Regions from separate parts of the Homo sapiens genome. Here regions 1 and 3 are each linked to region 2. The links are contacts of gene promoters, found by promoter capture Hi-C in human tissues and cell types (Jung and others, 2019). All regions are on one chromosome and are shown on one strand. The core of a region is centred on a gene start or on the middle of the fragment in contact, and the rest is flanking DNA. Distances in the headings are between cores, read along the strand shown. Region 1 holds the start of SYNE4 (spectrin repeat containing nuclear envelope family member 4). Region 2 overlaps ZNF146 (zinc finger protein 146). Region 3 holds the start of CLIP3 (CAP-Gly domain containing linker protein 3).

The links. Contacts are between HindIII fragments. The study calls those that stand out against the background at their distance.
Region 1: the fragment with the promoter of SYNE4 here is called in contact with a fragment that was not itself captured in region 2 in 1 of the 25 tissues and cell types used here (dorsolateral prefrontal cortex).
Region 3: the fragment with the promoter of CLIP3 here is called in contact with a fragment that was not itself captured in region 2 in 3 of the 25 tissues and cell types used here (dorsolateral prefrontal cortex, spleen and stomach).

The regions. Positions count from the first base shown.
Region 1 is chr19:36,007,137-36,010,979 of GRCh38, forward strand. SYNE4 (spectrin repeat containing nuclear envelope family member 4) reads right to left here and starts at 1,677. Exons shown (of 8, transcript NM_001039876.3): 1 at 1,418-1,677; 2 at 1,081-1,231; 3 at 1-132. The coding sequence starts at 1,545. It overlaps ALKBH6 (alkB homolog 6), which reads right to left. Exons shown (of 7, transcript NM_032878.5): 5 at 3,758-3,843; 6 at 3,431-3,547; 7 at 1,984-2,417. The coding sequence ends at 2,154. RefSeq lists enhancers at 849-1,390, 1,391-1,930. The HindIII fragment of the contact is 19,934 bases long and covers 806-3,843 here.
Region 2 is chr19:36,217,131-36,221,307 of GRCh38, forward strand. It overlaps ZNF146 (zinc finger protein 146), which reads left to right. Exons shown (of 4, transcript NM_007145.3): 2 at 992-1,065. It also overlaps a transcript of ZNF565 not described here. Among named protein-coding and RNA genes, the nearest start is that of ZNF146, 4.1 kb to the left of the region's middle. The HindIII fragment of the contact is 7,261 bases long and covers 1-4,177 here.
Region 3 is chr19:36,030,499-36,034,726 of GRCh38, forward strand. It overlaps CLIP3 (CAP-Gly domain containing linker protein 3), which reads right to left and starts at 2,375. Exons shown (of 14, transcript NM_015526.3): 1 at 2,226-2,375; 2 at 1,694-1,917. The coding sequence starts at 1,859. All of the region lies in intron 3 of LOC101927572 (a long non-coding RNA gene), which reads left to right. The HindIII fragment of the contact is 12,641 bases long and covers 1-4,228 here.

The DNA.
Region 1 (3,843 bases), core at 427-2,926, 210 kb before region 2:
CATCCCACTCTGGGCCAATGCCCAGTGCCCCAGGCCTTGCTCCAGGTCCTGCAGCCGGCGGCCCAGCCCCAGCAGGCACAGGTGCAGGCTGTTCTGCTCAGCCTCTAGTACCTCCAGGCCAGAAATGGGGTGCTGGGGAACACAGGAGCCAGGTCAGGGCCAGTGGGCCAATCAAGATATCACCCCTGCTCCCATCCCCACCCCTCTTCTGTAAGCTTCTGGAAACTTCTCTGTGGCACAGTCCATCTCCGGGTCTGTCTGCACCAGGATGGCTCCCACTGGGGGGGCCTTCCCAGTGGAGCCAGGCCTGAGGACAGATATCTAGTTCAAGGTCTCCAGGTTTTCAAAGCTCCTGGAAACTTGGATGTGTGAGGCCTGGGGGGTCTGGACAGGGAGCGGGGCTGGGTACCCCCCAAGAAGAATGGGGCTACACCAGGAGCAATGATGAAATGCTTCTCAGCCGGGCGCAGTGGTTCACATCTGTAATCCCAGCACTTTGGGAGGCCGAGGCCCGAGGATCACTTGAGCCCAGGAGTTCAAGACCAGCCTGGGCAACATGGTGAGACATCATCTCTACTTTTTTTTTTTTAATAAAAAAGAAATATGGCTGGACACGGTGACGCACGCCTGTAATCCCAGCACTTCGGGAGGCTGAGGTGGGTGGATCACCTGAGGTCGGGAGTTCGAGACTAGCCTGGCCAACAAGTCGAAAACCCATCTCTACTAAAAATACAAAAAATTAGCCAGGTATGGTGGCATGTGCCTGTAATCCCAGCTACTCGGGTGGCTGAGGCAGGAGAATCACTGGGACCTGGGAGGCGGAGGTTGCAGTGAGCAGAGATCTCACCACTGCATTCCAGCCTAGGTGACAGAGAGACTCCATCTCAAAAAAAAAAAGAAAGAAAGAAATACGTCTCCCCAGTTGGTCAGATATTGAAACACTTTTCCAGAAGGTCCCTCCCCCTACAGACACCCAACACCTTTCCAGAATCATCACCCGGTCCTCAGTATGGAGGCCAGACTCCAGGGGACAGAGAGGAGGTGGGGCTGGCACAAGGGGTCTGGGTCACCTCAGCTCACCTCACAGTGTTTGCCCCCAGCTGGGTCCTCGTAGGAAGAGGGTGTTGACCATCTCGGGGGGTGAGCGGCAGGCTCATTGCCCCTTGGCCCACCCTGGAAGTGCTCAGGAGGGCCCAAGGAGTCCTGTCCCAGGGTCTGGGCCTGCTCTGGGCTAGGAGGCAGGGGGCGGTGACTGGGTGAGTCTCGACACCTCACTTTTCAGCCTACCGTCACCCCAACCCTGGTGGCCTCTCCTATGTCCCCAGGCGATCACAGCCATGGCACCTCCTACCCTCACATGGCCCCTGCCACCACGCCTACCCTTTTGGGAACAAGCTTCCAAAGCCCCGGCCCCCACCTCGTGCTCTCCTCTCCGGACGCGGGGCAGACGGTGCATCCAACAATGTCCGCCTCTCTAGGTGCTCCCGGTGGGTGGTTGAGGGGCTCTGAGCCAAGTCTAGGGCCCAGAGGCAGGGACAGGGCCATGGCTGGGGGCCTGGGGACACAAAGTCAGGTGAGGGCAGCCAGTAAGACCTCTTCCCTAGACAAGGGTGTCCCAGAGCTCCTCCGCTGGAGTCACCCGGGCCTGAGGCTGCAGGAGAGGCCCAGGACAGGTCTGGCTCCGCCCCTTCCAAGAGGAACCTGGACCCGGCCATTTGATGCCCAGCTCAGGTGACAGAAGAGTCACTTAACTCCTTCCTCCCTAGCAGGCCAGTAGCTAAATCTCCCAGCATCACTCCACGCCATCCAAGAGGGTTCCAGATAGAACCCCTGCGCCACCTCCTCAAGAGCCCTGGATTCTGCCCCACTGGGAACCCAGAAATCGGACCTCCAGGGCCTACCCCATTCATTTAAGACCCTAGATGCCGCTCCCCTCAGGAAACCAAGCATCTGGCCCCTAAAAAATAAAAATATAAAACCAAGGAAAGATTTTTTTGTTTATTTGGTATGGGGTCTTCTGTAGCTCACACAAAATTATTGGGAAAATAAATAACCCAGGGGAGCCCCCTTTGCCCACGGTTCCTAGGTCGCGGAGTCACAGCAGCCCCAAAGGGGCAGGAACCTGGGAATCCGAGGGGTCCCGGCCCTGGCGGTCACTTGCCCAGCAGGAGGCCGGCGCGCAGCACGCGGGGCACGCGGCGGATGGTCAGCGAGACCCGGGTGCCGCGCACCAGGCAGGCTCCCGGCCGCGCCGACGGGCAGGCTGCCGCATTGGGCGGCGAGGAGGCGGCGTCCAGCGCGTCTACGCGGGCGGCGGCGATGCCGTGGAGAAGACGCGTGTAGGCGGGGCCGCGGAGCACCAGCAGGCTGCGCGGTTCCAGCAGTAGCGAGGTGGTGGGCCGGGGCGGAGGCCGAGGCTGCAGGGCGGGTTGAGGGTCAGCAGGGCTCAAGAAGTCGGGGGGTGGGGGTGGGCGAGAGGTCGGTAGCCTCCGGGGATCAGCTAGTCCCCAGGGGCAAAAGCTGAAGAGCAAGTGTGCTCACAATGATGGAGGCTTTGGTGGTTCAGGAGTGAAAATTGCTGGGGCCTGGGCTGGGGCTGCTGGAAAGGGAGGGCGAGGGCTCTGCCGTCCCTCGGGAGGGGGCAGGATCTAGGTGGCAGATGGGGGCGTCAAAGGGTCAGCGGCCGGTGGGAGCTGCAGCTGGGATCTCAAAGGGGCTGAGGCTGGGGCTGGGACCCAGGAATAGGCAGTCCCCAGGAAATACAGGCAGAGCTGGGCTGAGAGAGCATGGCTGAAGCCAGGACCAGGTGAGGAGAGAGTGAGGCAGAGGTTAGAGGCAGTGGGGGTTCCCAAGGACATCAGGACATTAGAGGACAACCGCACAGCTGAGGGAGTGTCAGAGCATCCAGGAGCATGCAGGGCTCGAGGGCAAGCCTCAAGGAGTGGGTCGGCGTGTTCAGGGGCGTTTCTGTGAACACTGGGGTGCTAGAAATGCATCACTCAGAGAAATTGTGTCAAGGGGTCAAGGAGAATCTGGGGGTGTCCTGCACCCCAAATCACATTCCTGGAGTAGCAGGACGTCTGGGGCACCCTGAGCAGGGGCAGATAGAGCATCTGGGAGGAGGTGAGGCCCCCCGAGTTAATGGCGGTGGGGTATCTAAGGATATCAGTGTCTGCTGGGGAGTCAGGGGTATCCATTCAGCAGGTTGGGGCATCGGGGAGCCTGTGAAAATCATGGCATGTGGGACAGACACCCTGTAAGCAGATGGGTTGGGTGTCTGGGAGGAAGTGGGTACACCCCATGAGGGGACAAGGGAAGGTATCTGGGAGAGTGCCAGGAGTACCCCGAAGGCATGTGGGACCAGGTCATCTTGGAGGATGTGCGAGGTTGAAGTGCCTACAAGCAGCTGGGGCAGTGTCTGGGGGCCCACCTGTTCTGTAGGGTCATCGTCCTCTGGCCGCCGCGGCTCGTAGAAGTCCAGCACGGTGTGGGAGCCCAGGCTGATGGTGCTGACAGTCGGGTAGTACAGTGGTCCGTCCTCGTGGGGCTAGGGAGTGGGCACCAGGGCTGGGCAGGGCAGGAGTCCACAACCCCCACCCTCTGGGTCAAAGGGGGGCTTCCCAAGCCAGGGACAGGGAGGTGAATGCCTGTTTGGGAGATGTGGCTGCCTAATGAGTGAGGGTGGGTACAGAGTCCCCTGCCCCAGCACAGCTCAGAAGTCTGAGTGGGGGGACACGGGCCGAGGGTGTGTGGTTACCATGATGCCCTCCCCAGGCAGATACTGGTTCACGAGGACATGGTTAGCTGGGAGGCCTCCAAAGAGGCTGAGGTTTGACACTTTGT
Region 2 (4,177 bases), core at 621-3,120:
CTGCTCCCTGCAACCTCTGCCCCCCAGGTTCAAGCGATTCTCTTGGCTCAGCCTCCCGAGTAGCTGGGATTAGTTGCCTGCCACCACACCCGGCTACTTTTTTTGTATTTTTAGTAGAGACAGGGTTTTACCATGTTGGCCAGGCTGGTCTTGAACTCTTGACCTCAAGTGATCGGCCCGCCTCGGCTTCCCAAAGTGCTAGGATTACAGGCATGAACCACGGTGCCTGGCCGACCCTGTCTTAAGAAAGAAAGAAAGGAGAGAGAGAGAAGAAAGAAAAGAAAAACAGTTCATGCCCATCAGTGGGAGATTGGTGTACATCGATACAACAAAATAATACATAGCTGTACAAAAGAATGAGGAGGAAGCTCTTTATATACTGAGACAGAAATAACTTCAAAATGTATTGTTAACTGAGAGAAAGCAAGGTGCAGAATGTAGAGTATGATACACGATGCATTTGGAATAAGAAAAGGGGTAATAAGAATATGTATTTATAATCCCAGCACTTTGGGAGGCCAACGCAGGCGGATCACCTGAGGTCAGGAGTTTGAGACCAGCGTGACCAACATGGAGAAACCCCGTCTCTACTAAAAATACAAAATTAGCCAGGCGTGGCGGCACATGCCTGTTAATCCCAGCTACTTGGGAGGCTGAGGCAAGATAATTGCTTGAACCCGGGAGGCGGAGGTTGCAGTGAACAGAGATTGCGCCATTGCACTCCAACCTGGGCAACGAGAGTGAAACTCCATCTCAAAAAAAAAAAAAAAAATTCAAAAGATACATACGAAATAATAAAACTGGCTGTTGGGGTGGGGGTACTGGAATAGACAGGGCAAAGGCTTTGTATTTTTAGTAGAGACGGGGTTTCACCATGGTGACCAGGCTGGTCTCGAACTCCTGACCTCATGTGATCTGCCTGCCTCAGCCTCCCAAAGTACTGGGATTACAGGCATGAGCTAATTTTTTTTTTTTTTTTTTTAAATTAAAGGAAGACATAGGCCAAGGAGCCAGACTTCCTGTGTTAACTCCTTCCTCTGCCACTTTTTACCTTGGGGACCTCAGGTAGGTACTTAAACCTTGGGCCTCAGTTGCTCATTTCATAGTATAGAAATAATAGCAATATTTGATTCAAAGGGTGGTTGTGTAGCTCCAGAAGTTAATACATGTAAAGTTCTAAGAATAGTCCCCAGTGTGTAGTAAGTACTTGATTAATGTTAAATACTAGTACTTTTTATTACTAGCTGCAAAAAAAATGCTTCCTCAGAAAATATTATAGTCCTGTGTCTGGTAGGAATTTCTGAAAGAATAAGATATGTAGATGCACTTTTGTTATTAATATTTCTTTTTTTTTTTTGATGGAGTCTCACTGTCGCCCAGGCTGCAGTGCAGTGGCCTGATCTCGGCTCACTGCAGGCTCTGCCTCCCTGGTTCATGCCATTCTCCCGCCTCAGCCTCCTGAGTAGCTGGGACTACAGGTGCCAGCCACCACGCCTGGCTAATTTTGTTTTTGTATTTTTAGTAGAGATGGGGTTTCACCGCGTTAGCCAGGATGGTCTGGATCTCCTGACCTTGTGATCCACCTGCCTCAGCCTCCCAAAGTCCTGGCATTACAGGCGTGAGCCACTGCGCCCGGCCTAATATTTCTATATTTTAATTTTTTTACTTAAAATTTTCTTTTTTTTTGGTGGAGGGGGGGACAGAGTCTCGGTTTGTCGCCCAGGCTGGAGTGCAGTGGTGCTATCTTGGCTCACTGCAAGCTTCACCTCCCAGGTTCACGCCATTCTCCAGCCTTAGCCTCCCAAGTAGCTGGGACTACGGGCGCCCACCACCACGTCCGGCTAATTTTTTGTATTTTTAGTAGAGACGGGATTTCACCGTGTTAGCCAGGATGGTCTCCATCTCCTGACCTCGTGATCCGCCCACCTCGGCCTCCCAAAGTGCTGGGATTACAGGCGTGAGCCACTGCGCCTGGCCACTTAAAATTTTCTGTGGATATTTCCTTTTTTAACTGGAATCAGGAAGTTAGGTTTGTTTTTTGATTTTTGAGATGGGGTCTCACTCTGGCTCAGGCTGGGTGCACTGGTGCGATCACATCTCATTGCAGCCTCCACCTCCTGGGCTGAAGAGATCCTCCCACCTCAGCCCCACCCCCGCAGTGGTTGGGACTACAGGTGTGTGCCACCACGACCTGCTAATTTTTAAACCTTTTTTTGTAGAGATGGAGTCTTACTATGTTGCCCAGGCTGGAAGTTAGATTTCTGTGTTTGAGTTATGTTTATCTTTAGAAAGTCATCATTATCCGCTCCTTTGGAAGATTTGTTCTTTGATTTCTATGATTACTTTTGCATGGTTCTAATTCAGAATCTCTGATGATTTTTTTTTTAATTCTAATTGTGATTGATTTTTGGCCAGAATACATCAGAGGTGATCTTACATACTTCAAATTGCATACCATTAGGAGAGATATACCAGATGGCTGGTGATTGTTACTTCCCTTTGACCAAAATGTTATGTTTACTTTGGTTCATTCTCCATCAGTCATTTAGTGGATGGTTTTAAAACCAATACATAATTCTTGGCTGGATGAGTAAATTTCTACAGGTATTGTAAAGTGATGATTTTCTGTTTTTTTTGTTGTTGTTGTTTGTTTGTTTTGTGTAAAAATGTAGTAGTCTATACGTTAAGAGAAACTTCTGGGAACAAACTAGAAATGATCCCTGGAAGTATAGTCTTAATTTCTCTTGTCTTTTCATTCCTTTTACATTTGTTTCATTGTTACATCAAATTGTATCTTTTTTTCCCCCTGGCTTTTTCTTTCTTAAACATCATCCTAAAGTTGTGTATATTTAGCGTGTTCTAGAATCAGCTGCACTTTTTGATGCCAGTGGATACCCCTTCAGGTCATTCTTGTCTCATTTTGGCTGACATCATTGATCTTGGAAAGTTTTCCTGCACTGCAGGCTTGTATCTTCCTCCCAGACTTGGAATTGACCATTTCTCCAAGGAGCTCTGGTTCCTTTTATTGGAGAATGGTATTAGAGACAAGATCAAGGGTGTGCTCATTGCCCAGGGGTAACATTGTTTTAAGGCCATTTTAAATTGCAGAGCATTTAAAAAATACATTTTTAATGTATTTTTAAAAATCATGAGTCCATATTCGTATTTCTAATTCACTTTAAATGGTATAGTATTTTTACCTAATTTCTTAGCTCCTAGTTCTTTTTTTTAATTTAATTTTATTTTATTTTTGAGACGGAGTCTTGCTCTGTCGCCCAGGCTGGAGTGCAGTGGCACGATCTCAGCTCACTGCAATCTCCGCCTCCTGGGTTCAAGTGATTCTCCTGCTTCAGCCTCCCGAGTAGCTGGGACTACAGGTGCATGCCACCACGCCCAGCTAAGTTTTTGTATTTTTAGTAGAGATGGGGTTTCACCGTGTTAGCCAGGATGGTCTCGATCTCCTAACCTCAGGTGATCTGCCCACCTTGGCCTCCCAAAGCGCTGGGATTACAGGCGTGAGCCACGGCGCCCGGCCTCCTAGTTGTATTTTATAGTAAAAAATATGAAACAAGTTATAAGTACTTATTTTGTTTGCTTTATCCTGCAATATAAAGAAAATGGTTTCAGTAACAATGCTGATACTAGTAGTAACCATAAACATACTGTATCATGTTAAAAAATTCTTTCTTTAATATATGTAACTATTTTTGTTCTTAAAATGCATCTTTTTTTTTTTTTTGAGATGTTGTCTTACTCTTTTGCCCAGGGCAGAGTGCAGTGGTGTGATCTTGGCTCACTTGCAACATCTGCCTCCCCAGTTCCAGCGATTCTCCTGCCTCAGCCTCCTGAGTAGCTGGGATTACAGGTGCCCACCATGACGCCTAGCTAATTTTTGTATTTCTAGTAGAGACAGCGTTTCACCATGTTGGCCAGGCTGGTCTCGAACTCCTGACTTCCTACTCGTCTTGGCCTCCCAAAGTGCTGGGATTTCAGGCATGAGCCACTGAGCCCAGCTTTTAAAATGCATCTCACTAAAGATGTATGTAGTCAAAGAACTCTGTTCTAAAGTCATTTGAAATCGTTTTTCTGAGGAATTATGTTACTAAATTAACATACAGTTGGGTTCATTTGTTGTTTTCAGGTTAAGGGACTGCTTTTTTTTTTTTTTTTTTTTTTG
Region 3 (4,228 bases), core at 1,125-3,624, 190 kb before region 2:
CCGGGGATTCCCAGCCTGCATATCTTCCAAATTCCCCTCCTACATCCAACTCTGGCTGCACTCCATCCCCTTCTACCCAGTACCCAGAGGGAGCTTTCAAACTACAAATCAGACCTGCCACTCCTCTGCTCTTAAACACCCTCCCCTTGCCACTCTTCTCCCCTGTCCCACTTAGAATATAACCAAAGTCCTCACTGTAGCCTTGAAGGCCCTTCCAGATCTGGCCTATGCCAACCTCTCACCTCAACCTCGATCATTCCCTGAATGCAGCTCCAGGATCTTTCTGTTCCAAGTTCAATTCTGCCTCAGGGCCTTTGCACTTGCTGCTGTCTGCCTGGAACACTCTTTTTCCAGCTCTCTTATGGCTGATTCCTCCCCATGCTCTGGGTCCCAAACTAAATGTTACCTACTCAGAAAGAGCAGCCCTGACTACCCCTGCAGGTAGCTGCCCCCTAGTCATTATCGTATCTCCACCTTTAATTTCTTTTTCTTTTTTCTTTTTTTCTTTTCTTTTTTTTTTTTTTCTTTTTTTTTTTTTTTTTTGAGACAGTCTTACTCTGTCACTCAGGCTGGAGTGTAGTGGCTCGATCTTGGGCAACCTCTGCCTCCCAGGTTCAAGCGATTCTACTGCCTCAGCCTCCCGAGTGGCTGGGATTACAGACATATGCCACTATACCCAGCCAATTTTTGTATTTTTAGTAGAGATGGGGTTTCACCATGTTGGCCATGGCTGGTCTCAAACTCCTGACCTCAGGTGATCCGCTGGCCTCAGCCTCCCAAAGTGCTGGGATTACAGGCGTGAGACACCATGCCCAGCCCACCTTTTCTTTCTTTCATAGCACTTGCTCCAATCTGAATTTATCTGATTTCTGATTTATTTATCTGTTCACTTGTTTAGTCTCTCCTTCTCTCCTGCAAGGGAGGATCATGCCTGGATCACTTAGGATTAAATCTCCGGCACCCAGCATAAGGCTTGTCACAGAGTAGCAGCACTCGATAAATATCGCTCGGTCAATGATTAGACACTTTCAGTTTCTCCAAGAGGCCGCCCTCTCAGCTCCATACCCTCCTACCTCAGATCCTTTACCCAGCGGTTACCTCTCCTGGGAGCCCTTTCCCCTGACCCTTCTCTTAGTTAACCCCAACTCACCCTCCAGTCTTCTCAACTGTAACCTCCTCAGGGAAACAATGTCTTAAAAAACTCTTGCAGCAGCTTGTTTATGGTAAATACAATTTTCATAATGTCTTGTAATTACATATTTATATTACATTATATTTTTCTTTCTTGCATATAAACCTAAATGTGAAAAATTACATTATGGTTTAATACCTATTTGTGTGGCTGTTACTGAGGCCTGTGAGTTGTCTCAGGGCAAAGACTGGGTCTCTCTTGCCCCCTGCTGTGGCCCCAGCCCCTAGCATAAAGCCAGGTCCACAGCCGCTTTCAAAAAATGATTGTTGAATGACTAAATGATGGAATGATGTGTCATGAGTCAAAGACTAGGAGTATTACAATTCCATTCTCCAATGGGTGAATGAATGAATTAACGAGGGGTGCTCTGCAGCCAAGATTCCTCTGGACCACCTTCAAATTCCCCAGAATTCTCCCACCATCACCACCAGCAGAGCACAGCCCACCCTCCCCGGCCACCCAACGCTCCAGGCCAGATTCCAGGGTGGGGACAGTGGTTACCGTAGTCCTTAGGGAGGGGGGCAGGTGCCGAGGGGTGCACAACAGGCTTCTGCCGGCGCTCCTGGGTGGGGCTGGGGGCCTCGGGGACGGGTTCATCCTCCTCCTCCTCTTCTTCCTCCTCTCCTCGGGGTGGCGGGGCCATCGGGGCAGGATCTGTCTTAGTCATGGTCCTCGGTGGCCCTCGGGGGGCGGGTGCAGAGTTGGGGGCAGCCTTCAGGCAAATCCTGGAGGCAGAGGTCAGCTGGAGAGGGTGCCCGGCAGGCTCCAGGGTCCAAGCCCCTAGGAGCTTCCAGGGCCCCGGGTGGCCTCCGCGCAACTGGATCTTGGGCAACCATAGGGACCCCCGTTACCCATAGAGGGCCCCGGTGTGTGCGCCCAGCGCCTGCCACCTCCCCCAGGCCCAGCCCCCCATTCTTCTCCTCCCGCGTCAGGCCCCTCAGTCGCGGCTGCCCCCTCCCCGGGTTTGTTTATCTCGGGATTCAGGATGCTTCGCCCCTCCCCTTCTCCGCGGGCCGCCCCCTCCCCATCTTACCTCGGGCAGACAGCGCTGGGGACCAAAGTGGAGACTGGGGAGACTGTGGGAGCAATGGGGTGTCGGTGTCAGGGGACGTGATGGGGGAGGCAAGGGAGACAGAGAGAAGGGGACGAGGCCCAGACGCCGACAGGGGGTGGGGGCGGAGAGGGAGGGGCGCGACTGCGCATGCGCCTGCTGCCCCCCTACCGGCGGCGGGGGAGGAGGGACCAGGAGGAGGGACCGGGAGGCGCTCGCATTGATGGAGGGGCCAGAGGCGGCGACTGAAAGGGGAGAGCCTCCGGGCACTGGGAGAGGAAGAGATGGCTACGGAAAGGAGCGAGATGAGCAGATACAACGGCAAAAGAGAGGGCTGAGAGAGCGGACACAGATCTTCTCCATCCCCTTCCCCCACGCCTGCAAACCAGGCCGGTGAGGGCAGTGGTCTTGGGGCGTGGTGACGATGGGGACCCTCTAGGGGACCCTCTCTCTAGGACCCTAGACCGGACCCCTTCTCCAAGCTCACCATTCATAATGGGTGCCTCAGAGGGGTGATTTCCTAGAGACTCCTATCATGATCATCTCATCCTTACCATCATAATGCGAGGCTCACACACTGGGGCCCAGAGGTTAAGCAGCTTGCCCAAAAGTACATGAGTAGGTGATGGAGCGAACATTTGAAACCAGACAGTCTGTAAAGTCTGATTTTTATTTTTATTATTTCCTAGACAGGGTCTCACTCTGTCACCCAGGCTACTGTGCAGTGTTGTGATCTTGGCTCACTGCAGCGTCAAACTTCTGGGCTCAAGCCATCCTCCCACCTCAACCTCCCGAGTAGCCGAGACCACACGTGCATGCCACCATGTCTGGAGAATTTTTTTTGAGACAGGGTTTTGCCATGTTGCCCAGGCTGGTCTTGAACTCCTGACCTCAAGGGATCCTCCTGCCCCTGCCACCCAAAGCGCTGAGATTACAGGCACGAGTCACCATGCCCAGCTTTGATTCTTAATCACCATGCTACATGCCTGTAGCAGTGTCTGGGAAACAGATCTGCCGATTGACCCCTCCAACTCTCTCAGAACCTGTATCTTCCCCACGGAGGCCTCCTGAAGCCAGCCCAGGGTCCTGGCTCCATTGTCATGGCTTGGCTTCCCACCTGGAGCTGTAGCCTGCTCTGCCTCAAATCATCCCAGCCTGGATGGGGCTGGGTGACAGCCTTGAACACCTCATCCTTCTAATGCACAGGTCCAGTAGCTCCATCTCCAAAAGATTTCCAGGATCTCACTCTCCCCACCGCTACCCTGGGCCCTCATCTTGGTCCATCCTTCTTCTTCTGCCACCAGCACTACGGCAGCAGCCTCTTACCTGCTGTCCCCGTCCTCCTCCAACATGCAGCCACAGGGACCCATGAACACCTGTCACTTTGGAGCCCTCTTTCCCTCAGAGGGGTCTGCCTGCTGCACCTCACTCCAGGTAGAAGCCAAGGCTCTCAGCCATGGCCCACAAGGGCCTATGTGAACCTGCCCCATCATCTCTGCACTCACCTCCTCTCACCCTCTTTTGTTCACTCCACCCCAGCCACACTGGCCTCCTTGCTTCTCCCTACCCCAGGACCTTTGCACTGGCTCTTTTTTTTTTTTTTTTTTGAGATGGCAGTCTCACTGTTCCCCAGGCTGGAGTGGAGTGGCATGATCTCTGCTCACTGCAACCTCTGTCTTCCAGGTTCAAGTGATTCTCCTGCCTCAGCCTCCCGAGTAGCTGGGATTACAGGCCTGTGCCACCACACCCAGCTAATTTTTGTATTTTTAGTAGGGACGGGGTTTCGCCATGTTGGCCAGGCTGGTCTCAAACTCCTGACCTTAGGTTATCTGCCTGCCTCAGCTTCCCAAAGTGCTGGGACGACAGGCGTGAGCCACCGTGCCTGGCCTGCAACGGCTCTTTGTGATGCCCGGAATGCTCTTCCTCCAAATCCCTACGTGGCTCCCTCTCTGCCCTGTTTTAGGATCTTACTTGTTGGTGTCTTT